Regions from separate parts of the Homo sapiens genome. Here region 2 is linked to region 1. Evidence: promoter capture Hi-C in 16 types of primary human blood cells and fetal thymus (Javierre and others, 2016). All regions are on one chromosome and are shown on one strand. Each heading gives the region's core, a stretch centred on a gene start or on the middle of the fragment in contact. The rest is flanking DNA. Distances are from core to core; before and after follow the strand shown. Region 1 holds the start of PLPPR4 (phospholipid phosphatase related 4). Region 2 has its middle 110 kb from the start of SNX7.

The links. The method cuts DNA at HindIII sites, captures the fragments that hold promoters and counts their contacts. A CHiCAGO score of 5 or more calls a contact.
Region 2: a fragment that was not itself captured here is called in contact with the fragment with the promoter of PLPPR4 in region 1 in 1 of 17 cell types (naive CD8 T cells); the score reaches 5.0 in naive CD8 T cells.

Annotation. Positions count from the first base shown.
Region 1 is chr1:99,263,224-99,265,778 of GRCh38, reverse strand. PLPPR4 (phospholipid phosphatase related 4) reads right to left here and starts at 1,287. Exons shown (of 7, transcript NM_014839.5): 1 at 1,108-1,287. The coding sequence starts at 1,185. The HindIII fragment of the contact is 14,890 bases long and covers 1-2,555 here.
Region 2 is chr1:98,774,995-98,777,549 of GRCh38, reverse strand. No RefSeq gene overlaps it. Among named protein-coding and RNA genes, the nearest start is that of SNX7, 110 kb to the right of the region's middle. The HindIII fragment of the contact is 8,099 bases long and covers 1-2,555 here.

The sequences.
Region 1 (2,555 bases), core at 38-2,537:
CAGGACAGATAAGCCTTACAATCATTGAATACAGAATCTACTGTTTGCACTTCGAAGGGCTAAACCTCCATATTTGGCTGAAAAGATGGCCAGAGAAGGATATTTATGATTCAGCAACAGTCTTATAATTCTCTATGCAACCCAGACTCTAACTAAACAGAATATAGTTTTGTGCCTAAAACCATCTGATTTCCCTAAATCTATGCAATACAACCCTTCAGTATCTGTAATTTAATAAACCTCTTGCTTAAAAATGTCTTCCTAATGCAATGGAGCACAGTACACGGAATCACTGTATCTGCCAATCTTTATAACACTCCTATGAATTGTTTCTCCCTCAAATACTGCATTTTGGTAAGTTAGAGGGTCATTACGGATACATCTGCATTTAATTGTTTATCTATAATACTGCTCAGCACAGTAAATACTCAGATACAAATCATGTAAAATCAGATGATGTCATAGATTTAAAATATTATATATAGTTATGTATACACACATATATAATATGTATTTTTTACTGTGGAAAGAGGCCAGTACATTGATGATTGATGTTTAGAGATGCAGATCCAATTTCAGAAGCGTATGTGAGCACCAAAATAATATAATAGGAGAAGGATTTGGGGGGGGGGGGCAGGAGCAATAAAAGCAATTAACAATATTTGTACTATGTAAACACCTTCAACCCTCATATGCCCTAGGCATAGCTGTGTGCACACGGAGTTCCCGACACGTACTCGGCAGGTTGAAGACACAAATCCCGAAATATGGGCATCATGGCCCCTCTGGGGCACTAGCGGACGTTGTGCACACAGGCACTACAGGAGGGCCAAGGAACTAAAACCACACTCACTCACACAGGTATCCGTTCCCTGCAGGCCACCCAGCAGCGACACCTCTAATGGTAATCACCCCGGGCTGACAGGTATTCACAGGCACATTCGGGGAGCTGCTGTGAAATCTAGGGGAAGAGGGGAGGGTCGGGCATTTGGGGACAGCCGCGCGCGCCCGGCAGGATCTCTGCGCCTCCAACACTGTCCAGGACCTGAATTCGCTCAGGAGATGCCCAGAGGATCTGCATTATGCCAAGGCACTGGGCCAACTCACCTCGACGAAATAAAAGCAGGGCAGGAGGGTGACGCTGTCCTTGATCACTTTGCCCTTTGGCCTCTCCTTCGCCGACATCCCTGCCGCCTGCCCGGGTCTGCGTCCTCCCCCGGGCGAGGTGTGCACAGCGCAGCTGAGGCGAGCTGCCTCCTCCAGCCCCAAGCGCCCGGCGCCGCTGATGTCACATTCCCCGCGGCCACCGCTGGAGCCAGCGCGCTGCATGCAGCGCCCCCGCCTTCTCCCCGCCCCTTTTTGCAGCAACCCAGCTATTCCCTGAGCGGGCCAGTCCTCTTCCTCCCCTAGTCTGGCTCCTGCTCCCCGTTTTTCTGGCGAGAGACGACGTCCAGCTCCCTCCTCCAAGCTGTTGCTGCAATGGCTTCCCCTCCCTGTCACCCTCCCTCAGCTCTCTACCGCCCTTGCGACGCTCCAAGGCTGTCGGAGCTTGACGTCAAGAATCCGAAAAGGAGGACGCACTCCTGGTTTCTGCAGTAGTTAGGCTGAGGAGCTAAGCCACCTAGTCTCCTCCTGGGGAGCCTCCTAGGTCACTCTAGGAATGCTATTAAAGAATGCTAAGGATCAGAAGCCCTGCTCCAGCGCGCTGACCCATAGCAAGAAAACCAACCCCTACCTCCACGAAATGAGATCTTGGATCCCATACTGAAAAGTAGGCTGAGGTAGGCATTAACTGACAGCTTGTTGCTACCCAGGAATGACAGCTCCTACGGGGGATTCTCTGCCTAGGAGACTCCTTATCTCCCTTCCATATCGAAGCACCCACTAACAAACACTACCGGTTGTGTGGGAATGATGTGGGTTCCTTGCATCCAGAGAGGCAGATGTGTGAATGCACAGGTAATGGGCATCCTCATTGAGCCCAGAGGCTACTGTATGTTCTAATCTCACTGTCACACCCCCAGAACAGTGTCAGTATTGCAATCATAACAGTAAAAAGAAGTATGTCTTCAGATATTAATAATCTAAAGTCCTTCATCTTGTTGGCAGTATACATGGCTAGTCTCAATTTTGTGATTACTTTGGCAACCAGAAGTATCAAGTTGATATAGAAGAGAGAAAGACCCAGCAAACACGAGACATGATATTATACTAATAAAGATGACCTAATTTTGTGATCACATGTCCCAGGCCATTTCCAATATCTCCAAGTCTCCATTTCAAGCATGTGATGGCCAATTCCCAACTCATTTATCCATTTCCCTTTTTTAGTTGCTCCTCCAATAGGTCTTTGGCAGTATGGGACCATCCTATCTAATAATATACTCATTTCACTGCCAACACCACCTCTTGCCCCCACTTTCTTCTGCCAGGCTTGGGTTCCAAAGTCTAGCAATATAATTGCTTGTTTCCGCCTCCCAATTTGCCATACTCACCTGATAATATCCCGGCTTAGTTGAACCCAATTCTCTGCCCTTACCAGAGCAACTGAAAGT
Region 2 (2,555 bases), core at 40-2,539, 490 kb after region 1:
ACGATAATATGTTAGCATGATCACTTTGAAGATTTGAACATAAGCAAACTTTTAAAATTTTCAATTTAAAAATGATTTAACATAATTTGTGCAGAAAGGCAGAGGATATATCACACGATCTGTTACCTGTGACCACTCTGATATCATCCCCAGCACTCTTCCCCTCCCTCATTCACATTGCTCCAATCATCCTGGCTTCCCTGTTGTTCTTGAAGACACCAAGTTTAATGTTGGCTTAGGGTATTGGTATTTACTGTTCCCTCTCCTGAGATATTCCTTCCTCTGTACCCGCAAGACTGGCTTCATCACTACTTCATATATATCATTGTCTTCTCAAAGAGACAGTCACTGACTACCCTGTGTCATATAGCTGCCCCACTCTCTAACCCCTTGCCTTGATACAGTTTTCTTCACTGTACTTGTTGCCATCATATTAAATACTTGCCCGTTTGTTTACTCTAGATCTCTTTCCACTAGAATATAAGCTCCAAGAGAGCAGACTTTGTCATTTTCTTCACCACTGGCTCCTCCCAGTGTATAATAGTGCCTGGCACATAGTATCATTCAATAAGTACATAAGTATTTCTTAAATAAATGACTCAATTGGTTGCTCTTATTTACTTAAAAATATATTTTACATGTGTTACGAATAAATTCATTTGGACTTTCTTAGTTCATTATAGATTAGAAACAAAACTCCAAAACAATGGTCTAATTCTGACTTTCTTGAGACATATTTTGAGAATATTTTGCAAAAATGATCACCAGTACTCATCACTGCTATGGATTTGCCTAAGGAGAAAAGGGATACCTCAATTTACTATGTTAACTTAACCCAGGAAATGTTGAGATATACAGAGCCCCACAATTCCAACACTCATTAGCCACGCAAATTAAGTTTTTCATAAAAATTTTAGTGAACGCAAAAGGTTATTGTGGAAAAAAAATTCTAGTGATTGTATTTCTGTTGCTGTGTGCCAGGCATTGTATTTAGTACTTGACATGTATTAACGTATTTAATTCTCACTTCAGAGCTCTCTGAGGCACTATTATCACGCTATTTGTTATGGGCTGAATTACATCCCCCTCAAAATTCATATGTTGAATTTCCAACCTCAGTACCTCAGAATGTGACTGTATTTGGAGTTGGGTCTTTAAAAAAATGAGTTAGGTAAAATGAACTCATATAGGTGATCTCTAATCCAATATGACCAACATGCTTATAAGAAGAGGAGATTAGGACTCAGACAACACACAGACTATGAGGCATTGTAGTAGTTAAGAGTTCTCCAGAGAAACAGAACCAATGGGATTTTATATACAGATGGTGCCTGGCTTACAATGGTTTGATTTAGGGTTTTTCAACTTTATGATGGTGTAAAAGCAATAGGTATTCATTAGAAACCATACTTCGTGCAGCCATGCACTATTCTGTTTTTCACTTTCAGTACAATATTCAATAATTTATATGAGCTATTTAATATTATATTATATAATAGGCTTTATGTTAGATGACTTTGCCTAACTGTGGGCTGAGGTAAGTGTTCTCAGAGCATTTAAGGTACGCTAGACTAAGATATCTCTTCAGTAGGTTAGGTGTAATAAATACATTTTTGACATAGGATATTTCAACTTATGATGGGCTTATCAGGATATAACCCCATTGTAAGTCAAGGAGATTTATTTGAAGGCTCTCAAGATTATGAAGGCTGCCAAAAAAAAAAAAAAATCTGCAGGGTGGGCCAGCAGGCTTGAGACCTAGGAAAGAGGCAATGTTGCAGATGAAGGTCCAAGGCAGTCTGCTGGCAGAATTTCCTCTTGCCCAGGTCAAGTCAGTCTTTTGTCCTATCCAGGCCTGCATCACCAAAAACAATATATTTTATTCAAAGGTCATGCACTTAAATGTAAATGCCATCCAAAAACATTCTGAATAACATTTGACCAACTCTCTGGGCACCATAGCTCAGCCAAGTAGACACATAAAATTAATCATCACAAGTCCACTCCATGTGAACTTGGTGCCCACACACATCTTTAACCATACAGTAATCCCCCCAGACTCATTGTTTTGATTTCCTTGGTTTCAGCTACTCAAGTCAACCATGGTCCTAAAATATCAAATTAAAATTACAGAAATAATCAATTCATAAGTTTTAAATTGAACACTGTTCCGAGTAGTGTGCTGAAATCTCACACCATCCCACTCTGACCCCGAGACGTGAATCCTCCCTTTGTCCAGCATGTCCACTGTCTATTCTCTCTGCCCATTAGCCACTTAGTAGCTAACTTGGTTATCAAATAGACTGTCATGGTTTACAGTGCTTGTGTTCAAGTAACCCTTATTTTACTTAATAGTGGTCCCAAGGCGCAAAAGTAGTGATACTCGCAATTTGGGTATGCCAAAGAGAAGTTATAAAGTACTTCCTTTAAGTGAAAAAGTAGAAGTTCTTGACTTAATAAGGAAAGAAAAAAAACATATGCTGAGGTTGTTAAGATCTACAGTGAAAATGCATGTTCTATCTGTGAAATTGTGAAGAAGTGAAAAGAAATTCATG